Linked DNA regions of Homo sapiens: region 2 is linked to region 1. Evidence: promoter capture Hi-C in human tissues and cell types (Jung and others, 2019). All regions are on one chromosome and are shown on one strand. Each heading gives the region's core, a stretch centred on a gene start or on the middle of the fragment in contact. The rest is flanking DNA. Distances are from core to core; before and after follow the strand shown. Region 1 holds the start of MRPL4 (mitochondrial ribosomal protein L4). Region 2 overlaps TYK2 (tyrosine kinase 2).

What was found. The method cuts DNA at HindIII sites, captures the fragments that hold promoters and counts their contacts. A contact is called where the count stands out against the background at its distance.
Region 2: a contact is called between a fragment that was not itself captured here and the fragment with the promoter of MRPL4 in region 1, in 2 of the 25 tissues and cell types used here (lymphoblastoid cells and spleen).

What each region holds. Positions count from the first base shown.
Region 1 is chr19:10,246,854-10,253,497 of GRCh38, reverse strand. It overlaps MRPL4 (mitochondrial ribosomal protein L4), which reads right to left and starts at 1,284. Exons shown (of 9, transcript NM_015956.3): 1 at 1,188-1,284; 2 at 1,035-1,101; 3 at 797-947. The coding sequence starts at 1,244. RefSeq lists enhancers at 782-1,355, 1,212-1,621, 1,752-1,901, 1,356-1,929 and a silencer at 3,299-3,348. The HindIII fragment of the contact is 13,002 bases long and covers 1-6,017 here.
Region 2 is chr19:10,364,180-10,370,709 of GRCh38, reverse strand. It overlaps TYK2 (tyrosine kinase 2), which reads left to right. Exons shown (of 25, transcript NM_003331.5): 4 at 2,292-2,415; 5 at 2,508-2,655; 6 at 4,130-4,293; 7 at 4,812-5,193; 8 at 5,662-5,859; 9 at 5,939-6,096. Among named protein-coding and RNA genes, the nearest start is that of TYK2, 13 kb to the left of the region's middle. RefSeq lists an enhancer at 6,152-6,530. The HindIII fragment of the contact is 7,383 bases long and covers 1,263-6,530 here.

The sequences.
Region 1 (6,644 bases), core at 35-2,534:
TTTTCTTTCTTTTTTTTTTTTTTTTTTGAGACAGAGTGTTGCCCAGGATGGAGTGCAGTGGCGCGATCTCGGCTCACTGCAAGCTCCGCCTCCCGGGTTCACGCCATTCTCTTGCCTCAGCCTCCAGAGTACCTGGGACTACAGACGCCCGCCACCACGCCCGGCTAATTTTTTTTTGTATTTTTAGTAGAGACGGGGTTTCACCATGTTAGCCAGGATGGTCTCGATCTCCTGACCTCGTGATCCGCCCGCCTTGGCCTCCCAAAGTGCTGGGATTACAGGCGTGAGCCACTGCGCCCAGGGTGGCCCCTACATTTTCTTAGAGATGTTATGAACAGCAGGGTAACTAAAATGCAAACAGCCTCTTCCAGGCACCGAGGAATGGTTTAGTCTTTTTAGTGCTCTTATTTGCAAAAACCAGTTAACAAAGATTATCAACATTTCTATAGAACTTATTATGTGCCAGAATTAAGTCATTTATTCATCACAGCAACCTCCCGACCGCTGACAAAATAGGGACACTGAGGGACAAGAGGGGAAGGCAGGATTTGAACCTAATCAGTCGGGCTCCAGAATTCTGTCTCCCTAACCCTTAGATGATGTCACCTCTCAGGCTTCAATCTCACACAGCGCTACAGCAGGGGAAACTGTCATCATTCCCCTTTGACAGGTGGAGAAACGGAGGCTGTAGAAATACAGCACTTTCCCAAGGGTACAAGCCCAAAGTCATCGTGACTCCTGAAATCCCGCTCTTCATCCCTCTGCCACTCAGTTCACCATTACAGCCCTCGCTCACCTGGGCGCGGTGGCGAAAACATCGGGGTGCAGGTCGGCCAGGCCCACGCGCTCCTGCTCGAAGCCCCGCAAGGACTCGACCCAGGCCTGCACTGGGCGTCGATGAGTGGGTACCGGGAGCTCGACTTTGCGCAGCACGGGCTCCGGGAGACCTGGAGCGATTGCGGGGGTCAGAGGTTAGGGTCAAGGGTCAGACCTCTCTGTCGCCGCCCCTCCTGGAGCCACCCCGGTTGCCTTACCCTCGCTCGCCACCTGCTCCGGGTTCTCGGTCGCACGCGCTGCCTCTTCCGCCAGGGAACTCAGGCCCTGCAAGGGTTGGGCGAAAGTGAGAGACGACCCCTGGACACCCCCAAATTTCATCCTTCGACCACGCCTCCAGCCCCTGGCCTCACCTGGCTGCCGGTAGGCCGAAGCCAGGCCCGCGCCCCGGCCCGGACGAACTGCAGCATCGCCGCGCAGCCTCCCACGCCGCGGGAGGTCAAGGCCACTGGAGCCTCGCGAGGCGCCGCTGGATGACGTCACGCACGCGACGCCGCCCTACCCGCCGCGACTCCGCGCTGGAAAGCGGGGTGTGCAAAACCGAAGATGGAGGGGGTCCGACCCGGCGTGCCCAGACCTCCACCCCAGGACTAACCCCCAGACCCAATTTTCACTCCTGCCTCAAGGACCCTCCGTAACACTGGGGAACGCGACCTCACAGCAAGAAGACCCAGCTTCCGTAGGCCTAGCCTACTTTGGGTCCCGCCTCCGACGAGCCGGTGCAGGAATTCAGCCAATGAGACCTCTCTGGCCCAATTCAGCCAATGACTGTTAAGCCTGAAGGAGTGACCCCCGCCCATAAGTGGGCAGTTCTGGAGTGAGCAACTAAGGAATACAGCCAATAACGCTTAAACTTTTGCTGTTGGTCACGCCCACCGGGCCACGCCTTCATCCCGCCTCCAAGGCTGTCGGAGATGGTTTTTTCTTTATCCAGTTATGTGGTTTTGTTTTTTTATTTGTTTTTTTGTTTTTGTTTTTGTTTTTGTTTTTGTTTTTTTTGAGACGGAGTCTTGCTCTGTTGCCCAGGCTGGAGTGCAGTGGCGCGATCTCGGCTCACTGCAAGCTCCGCCTCCTGGGTTCACGCCATTCTCCTGCCTCAGCCTCCCGAGTAGCTGGGACTGCAGGCGCCCGCCACCACGCCTGGCTAATTTTTTGTATTTTTAGTAGAGACGGGTATCACCGCGTTAGCCAGGATGGTCTCGATCTCCTGACCTCGTGATCCTCCCGCCTCAGCCTTCCAAAGTGCTGGGATTACAGGCGTGAGCCACCGTGCCTGGCGTTTTTTCATTTGTTTAAAGGCAGGGCCTTATTGCCCTCAGAAAGCCTTCAGGATTGGGCCTGCCAGACCATGCCTCCCAGTTTAGATTCCCCAGGGCAGGGCCATGTCCCCCCGAAACCCCTCAGATTAGGTATTTGTGTCCCTTACCCCCTAGACCAGGGTCCTCTCCCCTACCCCCTTAAACCAGGTCCCGTCCCCTCTCAGACCTTCCAGGGCTCTCCAAGGACAGAACAAAGTGGGGAGTCCACAGATCCTGGAGTGCCTCCCTTGTCGCCCCCTAACAAATCCGAATGCTTATTTTTAGTTTCTTTGTTTTGGTTTTTAGAGACAAGGTCTTCCTCTGTCGCCCAGGCTGGAGTGCAATGGGCAAGATCATGGCTTACTGCAGCCTCGACCTCCAGAGCTCAAGGGATTCTCCTGCCTCTGTCTCCTGAGTAGCTGGTCTACAGGTACGCAAGCCCGGCTCATTTTTGTATTGTATTTTTTTATTTTGTATTTGTATTTTGAGATGGAGTATCGCTCTGTCGCCCAGGCCGGAGTGCAGTGGTGTGAGATCGCACATCTCGGCCTCCCGGGTTCAAGCGATTCCCTGCCTCAGCTTACCGAGTAGCTGGGACTACAGGCGCCCGCCACCACACCTGGCTAACTTTTTGTATTTTTAGTAGAGAGGGGGTTTCACCGTGTTAGCCAGGATGGTCTCAATCTCCTGACCTCGTGATCCGCCCGCCTCGGCTTCCCAAAGTGCTGGGATTACAGGCGTGAGCCACCGAGCCCGGCCCTAATTTTCGTGTTTTTATTAGAGACAGTGTGGCACCACGTTGGCCAGGCTGGTCTTGAACTCCTGACCTCAGGTGATCCACCCGCCTCGGCCTCCCAAAGTGCTGGGATTACAGGCCTGAGCCACCGCGCCCGGCCTAATTTTTTTTTTGTAGAGATGGCGGGGGGTGGGTCTCCCAATGTTGCCCAGGCTGGTCTTGAACTCCTGGGCTCAAGCAATTCTCCCGCATTGGTCCCCCAAAGTGCTGGGATTACAGGCATGAGCTACTGTGGCCCACCCATTTTTAGGTTCTTTACCATGTTCCCGATAGACCTCCAGGGGGCGCCACCGGATCATAGCCGGCTTCCCTACCAGTCCAGGGCTGTCTACTTGGAGGCCAGTGCGTTCTGGACAGAGCACAGCTGACAACGTGGTCTGTGAACCAACCTCATTTTCCTCTGCTGGAAAAGGAGGTTATGAGATTCAGTGACGTAATGGAGGCAAAGCTTCCCATGCCTGGTACAAGGTGTAAAGTCAATAAATAGCATTATTATTATTTTTTTTTTGAGACAGAATCTCACTCTGTTGCCCAGGCTGGAGTGCAGTAGCGCGATCTTGGCTCACTGCAACCTCTGCCTCCTGGGTTCAAGCGATTCTCCTGCCTCAGCCTCCCGAGTAGCTGGGATTACAGGCGCCCGCCACTACGCCCAGCTAATTTTTATTTTTATTTTTTATTTTTAGTAGAGACAGGGTTTCACCATTTTGGCCAGGCTGGTCTCGAACTCCCGACCTCAGGTGATCCACCCGACTCGGCCTCCCAAAGTGCTGGGATTACAGGCGTGAGCCACCGCGCCTGGCCTCTACCAAAAATTTAAAAATTAGCTAGGTGTGATGGTATATGCCTGTGGTCCCAGCTAATGGGGAGGCTAAGGCAGAAGGATCACCTGAACCCAAGAGATTGAGGCTGCAGTGAGCCATGTTCATGCCACTGTACTCCAGCCTGGGTGACAGACTAAGATCCTGTCTCAAAAAAAAAAAAAAAAAAATGTGGCCGGGTGCGGTGGCTCACGCCTGTAATCCCAGCACTTTGGGAGGCCAAGGTGGGCGAATCACGAGTCAGGAGTTCGAGACCAGCCTGGCCAACATGGTGAAACCTTATCTCTACTAAAAATACAAAAAAATTAGCTGGGCGTAGTGGCGGGCACCTGTAATCCCAGCTACTCGGGAGGCTGACGCAGGAGAATCGCTTCAACCCAGGAGGCAGAGGTTGCAGTGAGCCGAGATCCCGCACCGCACTCCAGCCCATGCGACGAGTGAGACTCTGTCTCAAAAAAAAAAAAAAAAAAGAAAGAAAGAAAACAAAAAGTATAGTGTATTTCATTGTGTATTTTATCCCTGCAAGAATAACTGAATGCGGCCGGGCGTGGTGGCTCATGCCTATAATCCTAGCACTTTGGGAGTCCGAGGCGGGTGGATCACCTGAGGTCAGGGGTTCGAAACCATCCTGGCCAATATGCCAAAACCCCATCTTTACTAAAAATACAAAATTAGCCGAGCATGGTGGCGCATGCCTGTAATTCCAGCTACTTGGAAGGCTGAGGCAGAATTCCTTTAACTTGGGAGGCGGAGGTTGCAGTGAGCTGATACCGCACCATTGCACTCCAGCCTGGGCAACAAGAGTGAAACTCCGTTTCTAAATAAATAAATAAATAACTGTGGATGCATGTTTAAGACTCTATGTATTTTGCAACTTTAAAAGGTCTTTTAATCGTTTATTTTGTTGCTGTTGTTTTTGAGACAGGATCTCACCCTGTTACCAGTCTGTAGTGCAGTGTAACGATTATAGTTCACTGTAGTCTTGAATTCCTGGCCTCAGATGATCCTCTGCTGCAGCCACCTAAGTAGCTGAGGCCACAGGCATGTTCCACCATGCCCAGCAATTTTTTTTTTTTTTTTTTTTTTTTGTAGAGGCAGAGGTCTTGCTTTGTTGTCCAGGCTGGTCTTGAACTCCTGTTCTCAAGTGATGCTCCCTACCTGACTAATGTTTGTATTTTTCGTAGAGACAAGGTTTCACCATGTTGGTCAGGCTGGCCTCGGACTCCTGACCTCATGTGATCCACCCGCCTCAGCCTCCCAAAGTGCTGGGATTATAGGCGTGAGCCACTGCGCCTGGCCTATTGTATATTTTCATTGGTCATTCATACACCTGGTAGAGAGAATTTCAAAAATTACAAAGATTACTAGAGTGAAAATTCTGTCTACTCTTATCTGTGCCCCCTACCCCCCAGTTCTTCTCCCAGAAGCCACCACTACAATCAGCCTCCTGTGTGTCTACTCCAAAATCCGGTGTATGATTTTACAGGCAGATTTGCAAGTCTGTTCTGCACCAGAGAGTTTAGATTTTATGTGGCAAATGATGGAACAGTATTTCGTTTCTTTCTTTTTTCTTGTTTCATAGAGACAGGGTCTCGCCGTGTTGCCCAGGCAGATCTCAAACTTCTGGGCTCAAGCGATCTGCCCGCCTTGGCCTCCCAAAGTGCTGCGATTATGGGTGTGAGTCACCTCGCCTGGCTTTTTTTTTTTTTTTTTTTTTTTTGAGACGGAGTCTCGCTCTGTCGCCCAGGCTGGAGTGCAGTGGCGTGATCTTGGCTCACTGCAAGCTCCGCCTCCCAGGTTCACGCCATTCTCCCACCTCAGCCTCCTGAGTAGCTGGGACTACAGGTGCCCGCCACCACGCCTGGCTAATTTTTGTATTTTTAGTAGAGACGGTTTCACCATGTTAGCCAGGATGGTCTCAAACTCCTGACCTTGTGATTCCACCCCTCATCCCCCACAACAGATCTGTATCATCCATCCATGCCCTGTGCCTTTTGTTTTTTTTTTTTTTTTTTGAGACACAGTCTCATTCTGTCACCCAGGCTAGAATGCAGTGGTGCGATCCCGGCTCACTGTAACCTCCTCCACCTCCTGGGTTCAAGTAATTCTCCTGCCTCAACCTCCTGAGTAGCTGGGATTACAGGCAGACACCACCACGCCCAGCTAATTTTTGTATTTTTAGTAGAGATGGGGTTTTGCCATATTGGCCAGGCTGGTCTCGAACTCCTGACCTCAAATGATCCGCCTGCCTCAGCCTCCCAAAGTGCTGGGATTACAGGCGTGAGCCACCACACTAGGCCGCCTGGCTTAGTTTCTTAGTGATTTATTAGGCACCTACTGTGCACCACTGGTACACCAGTAAATCCAGCAAACACTTTTGAAATATTCACAGTCCAATGCAGAGGCCTGAAGGATCAGAGTTCAGGAGGGGAGTCTACAGGGTCTGTGGGCGTCCACAGGAGGAATTCCCAACCACGGGGGCAGGGTCTTGGGGTGGTCTTATGAAGCTGTAGCCTGAGAGCTAAGGCTTGAGGACTTTGTCCAGAGGAGAAAGTCTGTTTCAGGTTGAGAGAACAGCAGTCGCAGAGGCCAGGAGTGAGGAAAGACTGACAGGGGGCAGAGGTGGCTGAACCTTTCGGACTACCCACTGCATGCTTCCTTTGTTTTTGTTGTTGTTGTTTGAGACAGGGTCTCACTCTGTCACCCAGGCTGGAGTGCAGTGGTGTGATTTCAGCTCACTGAAACCTCTGTGCTGGTGTGCGACTGTAGTCCCAGCTTCTCAGGAGGCTAAGATGGGAGGATCACTTGAACCCGGGAGGCGGAGGTTGCAGTGAGCTGAGATTGCGCCACTGCACTCCAGCCCAGGTGACAGATCGAGACTTTGTCTCAAAAAAATAA
Region 2 (6,530 bases), core at 3,705-6,204, 110 kb before region 1:
AGTAGCTGCGATTACAGGTGCTCACCCCCACACCCAGCTAATTTTTGTATTTTTAGTAGAGACGAGGTTTTGCTCTGGTGGCCAGGCTGGTCTCAAACTCCTGCCCTCAAGTGCTTCACCTGCCTCAGCTTCCGAAAGTGCTGGGACTATAGGCATGGGCCACTGCACCCAGCCAGATACCATTTTTTTTTTTTTTTTTGAGACAGTCTTGCTGTGTCGCCAGGCTGGAGTGCAGTGGCACAATCTCGGCTCACTGCACCCTCCACCTCCCGGGTTCAAGCGATTGTCCTGCGTCAACCTCCGGAGTAGCTGGGACTAAAGGTGCACCCCACCATGGCCAGCCAATTTTTTTTTTTCAGATCTCACTCTGCCGCCCAGGCTGGAGCTCAGTGGCACGATCTTGGCTCACTGCAACCTCCGCCTCCCGGGTTCAAGCAGTCCTCCTGCCTCAGCCTCCCAAGTAGCTGGAATTACAGGCACATGCCACCAGGTCCAGCTATTTTTTTTTTTAATAGAGATGGGATTTCACCATGCTGGCCACGCTGGTCTCGAACTCCTGACCTCAAGTGATCCACCTGCCTCAGACTCCCAAAGTGTTGGGATTACAAGTGTGCACCCTCGAGCCTGGCCATGGCTGATTCTTTGTTTTGTTTTGTTGTGTTGTTTGAGACAGAGTCTCGCTCTGTCGCCCAGGCTGGAGTGCAGTGGCGCAATCTCGGCTCACTGCAAGTTCCACCTCCTGAATTCACACCATTCTCTTGCCTCAGCCTCCCAAGTAGCTGGGACTACAGGCATCCGCCACCATGCCTGGCTAATTTTTTGTATTTTTTAGTAGAGACGGGGTTTCACCATGTTAGCCAAGATGGTCTTGATCTCCTGACCTCGTGGTCTGCCCACCTCAGCCTCCCAAAGTGCTGGGATTATAGGCGTGAGCCACTGCGCCCGGCCGACAGGTACAATTTTTAAATGACATCAGTAGAAGAAAGATACCCTGGGTAGCTGGTGTGGGAAATTACAGCAAGTCTGGAGACTGGATTGGGGTTGAGGTTTGCATTTGAAGGTGGTGGATGGAGCCCCAGGACATGGAGGGTGCAGGAAGAGCAGGTCTTGGTGACCGATCTGTTTTGGAGCAGGTGGGAGAGGTTGAAGATAAGGACCAAGTTCCTGGTTTGAAGAACTGGGCAGAAGCCACACACCCTGGCTCATAGCCATAATCCCATCAACTCCAGAGATTGAGGTGGGAGGATCGCTTGAGCCCTGGAGGTTGAGGCTGCAGTGAGCTAGGATTGCACCACTGCACTGCAACCTGGGTGGCAAAGAAAGACCCTGACCCTTAAAAAAAAAAGGGCAGAGGAAGGGAAGGTTGGAGTTTGCCAACCACAGATAAGATATGTTGTTTGGAACAAGCCATATCTAAGGGGGGGCCTGTGATGTCCAGGGGGAGACAGCCAGGAGGTGACTGGATGTTTCTTTGGGGCTGGAGTTCAGGGAGACGCCAGACAATTGCAGCAGTTTGTAGAGTTATGTGGGTCAGGCTAGGATTAGTTTTGCTGCAGGAATAAGCAATCCCCCCAAATCTTAATCAAGGTTTACCTAAAATCGGCCGAGCACAGTGGCTCATGCCTGTAATCTCAGCACTTTGGGGGGCCAAGGTGGGCAGATCACCTGAGGTCAGGAGTTTGAGACCAGCCTGGCCAACATGGCGAAACCTCGTCTCTTCTAAAAATACAAAAACTAGCCGGGGTTGGTGGCGCACACCTGTAATCCCAGCAACTCAGGAGGCTGAGACAGGAGAATCACTTGAACCCAGGAGGCGGAAGTTGCAGCGAGCCAAGATCGTGTCACTGCTCTCCAGCCTGGGCAACAGCAAGACTCCATCTCAAAAAAAAAAAAAAAGTTTTACTTAAAATCAAGTACAGGTTGGATGGTTCACCTCTGTCTTACAGCTTCACCATCTGTCACAAGAAGCCTTCATCATACCTCGGGTGGTGAAGGTGGCAAGAGAATTTATTTCCAGGCTTGGAAATGTACCCAGCCCTTTGGCCAGAAACCAGCAGTGCAATTGGCTCCATCCTAGCTGCAAGGGAGGCTGGGAAATGTAGTCCTCCTGTGAGGCCACAGCATGGGCAACATACGCACTGTCCTCTGCCCAGGGGCAACGTGAGACTGAAGCTGCAGGTGGGGGAGGGGGCCTCAGAGGGAGTGTGAAGGCAGACATTGGGTCTGGGGGGTCTTTGGGGCTGACGGTAGCAAATGACGTGACTCCTGACCTCGTTTCTCACCTGATCCAGGTATCACTCCTCCTTGCTTCAATCTCTTTGCCCTCTTCGATGCTCAGGCCCAAGTCTGGTTGCCCCCAAACCACATCCTAGAGATCCCCAGAGATGCAAGCCTGATGCTATATTTCCGCATAAGGTGGGTGGAGACCTTTGCAAAGCTCGTCCCCTCCTGTGCTGAAGCTGGTCTGACTCTGTGCTAAGCCCCAGCTGCGTCCCTCCTTCCTGCAGGTTTTATTTCCGGAACTGGCATGGCATGAATCCTCGGGAACCGGCTGTGTACCGTTGTGGGCCCCCAGGAACCGAGGCATCCTCAGATCAGACAGCACAGGGGATGCAACTCCTGGACCCAGCCTCATTTGAGTACCTCTTTGAGCAGGTATGAGCAGGGCTGGGGTGGCAAGACTATTTGTGGGAGACTTAGGGGCAGTTGAGGAGCCCCCATTTCCCTCCCTGATTCAATATAGCTAATAGGTTTCAACTCATGCTATCTGGGGATCTTTTTTTTTTTTTTGAGACGGAGTCTTGCTCTGTCGCCCAGGCTGAAGTGCAGTGATGTGATCTCGGCTCACTGCAAGCTCCGCCTCCCAGGTTCCCGTCATTTTCCTGCCTCAGCCTCCCAAGTAGCTGGGACTACAGGCGCCCGCCACCATGCCCAGCTAATTTTTTGTATTTTTAGTGGAGACGGGGTTTCACAGTGTTAGCTAGGATGGTCTCCATCTCCTGACCTCGTGATCTGCCCGCCTCGGCCTCCCAAAGTGCTGGGATTACAGGCGTGAGCCACCGCTCCCAGCCGATCTTTTTTTTTTGAAATGGAGTCTTGCTCTGTGGCCCAGGCTGGAGTGCAGTGGCGTGATCTCAGCTCACTGCAACTTCCACCTCCCAGGTTGAAGCGATTCTTCCACCTCAGCCTCCCAAGTAACTGAGATTACAGAAGCCCGCCACCACCCCAGGCTAATTTTTCTATTTTTAGTAAAGACGGGGTTTCACCATGTTGGCCAGGCTGGTCTCAAACTCCTGACCTCAAGTGATTCACCTGCCTCAGCCTCCTAAATTGTGGGATTATAGGTGTGAGCCACCATGCCCAGCCAAGAGTTCAGGTTGAAGGGGATAGAGTGCTGTGATTGATTAGTAATGTCTGCCACAGGCACAAGATTGACAAGAGGAGGGGTGTATGCTGTGTATTTGGCCTTTCCAGTAAATGGTGGTCTCTCCCCTCCTCAAGGTGGTAAGACGCAGGAAATTAGAGTTCTCTGGCTAGAGTAAGCTTGTCCAACCCCTGGCCTGCGGACTGCATGCTGCCCAGGACAGCTTTGAATGAAGCCCAACACAAATTCATAAACTATCTTAAAATATTCTGAGATTTTGCTGTGATTTTTTTTTTTTTTTGAGACAGAGTTTCATTCTTGTTGCTCAGGCTGGAGTGCAATGTCATGATCTCAGCTCACTGCAACCTCTGCCTCCCAGGTTCAAGTGATTCTCCTGCCTCAGCCTCCGGAGTAGCTGGGATTACAGACATGCGCCACCACACCTGGCTAATTTTGTATTTTTAGTATAGGCGAGTTTTCTCCATGTTGGTCAGGCTGGTCTCAAACTCCTGACCTCAGGTGACCCGCCCGCCTTGGCCTCCCAAAGTGCTGGGATTATAGGCGTGAGCCACCATGCCCGGCTTGCGATATTCTTTTTTTTTTTTTTTTTTTAGCTCATCAGCTATCATTAGTGTTAGTGTATTTTATGTAGGGCCCAAGACACTTCTTCCAGTGTGGTCCAGGGTAGCCAGAAGATTGGATACCTCTGGGCTAGAGAGGAACGCATTCTCACACCTCCCTTTCTGCTCAATTTCCTGTTCCCAGGGCAAGCATGAGTTTGTGAATGACGTGGCATCACTGTGGGAGCTGTCGACCGAGGAGGAGATCCACCACTTTAAGAATGAGAGCCTGGGCATGGCCTTTCTGCACCTCTGTCACCTCGCTCTCCGCCATGGCATCCCCCTGGAGGAGGTGGCCAAGAAGACCAGGTGTCTGGGAATGGGGTGGGGACGCTGTGTAGGCAGGGGGAAATGTCCTGAGCATCTGGGAGCCAGGGTAGACTTTGCATATTGCCGTGCCTCTACTTTTTTTTTTTTCTGAGCCGGAGTCTCTCTCTGTCACCTAGGCTGGAGTACAGTGGCGCAATCTTGGCTCACTGCAACCTCTGCGTCCCAGGTTCAAGAGATTCTCCTTCCTCAGCCTCCTGAGTAGCTGGGATTACAGGTGCCCACCATCAAGCCCAGCTAATTTTTGTATTTTTAGTAGAGACAGACTGAGTTTCATCATGTTGGCCAGGCTGGTCTCGAACTCCTGACCTCAAGCGATCCTTCCGCCTTGGCTTCCCAAGTAGCTGAGACTACAGGCTCAAGTCACCACACCTGGCTAGTGTGCCTGTTTTCCAGATGAGGCAGCTGAGGCTCAAAGAGGTTAAGCCACTTGCCCTGTGTCACCCAGCTGGGCCTGCAACCCAGGTCCCTGACCAGCCCCTCACTGTGTTTCCCCCCAGCTTCAAGGACTGCATCCCGCGCTCCTTCCGCCGGCATATCCGGCAGCACAGCGCCCTGACCCGGCTGCGCCTTCGGAACGTCTTCCGCAGGTTCCTGCGGGACTTCCAGCCGGGCCGACTCTCCCAGCAGATGGTCATGGTCAAATACCTAGCCACACTCGAGCGGCTGGCACCCCGCTTCGGCACAGAGCGTGTGCCCGTGTGCCACCTGAGGCTGCTGGCCCAGGCCGAGGGGGAGCCCTGCTACATCCGGGACAGTGGGGTGGCCCCTACAGACCCTGGCCCTGAGTCTGCTGCTGGGCCCCCAACCCACGAGGTGCTGGTGACAGGCACTGGTGGCATCCAGTGGTGGCCAGTAGAGGAGGAGGTGAACAAGGAGGAGGTGAGCAAGGCGCCCCTTCCGCCCTGGGGGTTCAGGTTGGGCTGGGGTGGGTTTCTGTGTTCATCCTTGACCCTAGCCTCTGAGGGTGGCTGACCTGAGCCCTCTCCCCACATGGCTCTGGGGCACCTGTCCGCTAGGGCCAGTTTCTTGGAGAAGGTCCTCCATCTGCTTACCCCCTGGGGACCTTATTTCTGGGGTCTGCACCTCCAGGGAACCCCTTCATCTGGGGACTGGCACCTGGGTGTGAGGGGGTCAGGATTCTTCTCTCTGCCTTCCCTAAGGGTCCGGCTTCCAGCATGTGTATGATTTTGGGGTGGGTCCCCATCCCACCTGTGACACTGGGACTTGGGAGGTCAACCTAGGTTGGTGCCTGGCCCTTCTGGCTCCAGTCTCTCCCCAGGGGAAAGTGCAGGAGGTATAAACGGGCATTGCCCTCTCCATCCTCTGCCCCACTTGCTGGGTGTTCAGGGTTCTAGTGGCAGCAGTGGCAGGAACCCCCAAGCCAGCCTGTTTGGGAAGAAGGCCAAGGCTCACAAGGCAGTCGGCCAGCCGGCAGACAGGCCGCGGGAGCCACTGTGGGCCTACTTCTGTGACTTCCGGGACATCACCCACGTGGTGCTGAAAGAGCACTGTGTCAGCATCCACCGGCAGGACAACAAGTGCCTGGTGAGGCCCAGGGTAGGGGCTGGGCTAGGGCCCATCATGGCCTGGGAGGACACCCACCTGATGCGCCCCTGGCTGGCAGGAGCTGAGCTTGCCTTCCCGGGCTGCGGCGCTGTCCTTCGTGTCGCTGGTGGACGGCTATTTCCGCCTGACGGCCGACTCCAGCCACTACCTGTGCCACGAGGTGGCTCCCCCACGGCTGGTGATGAGCATCCGGGATGGGATCCACGGACCCCTGCTGTGAGTGCTGGGTGGGGGGCGCTGGGGGCCACCGCCAAGGGTGCCAACTAGACTGTGAGCCCTAGGGGCTGTGCAGGGTGTGTGTGTAGGTGCACGTCTTATTTTTTTTTTATTTTTTGTCGCCCAAACTGGAGTGCAGTGGCATGATCTCAGCTCACTGCAGCCTCCGCCTCCCGGGTTCAAGCGATTCTCCTGCCTCAGCCTCCCAACTGACTACCTGGGACTACAGGCACTCGCCACCATGCCAGGCTAATTTTTGTATTTTTGTAGAGATGGGGTTTCATCAGATTGGCCAACCTAGTCTTGAACTCCTGACCTCAGGTGATCCACCCGCCTCGGCCTCCCAAAGTGCTGGTATTACAGGCATGAGCCACCACGCCCGGCCATGACTGTCATTGTGTGTTGAGGTTGTCATTGCACAGAACTGGTGATTT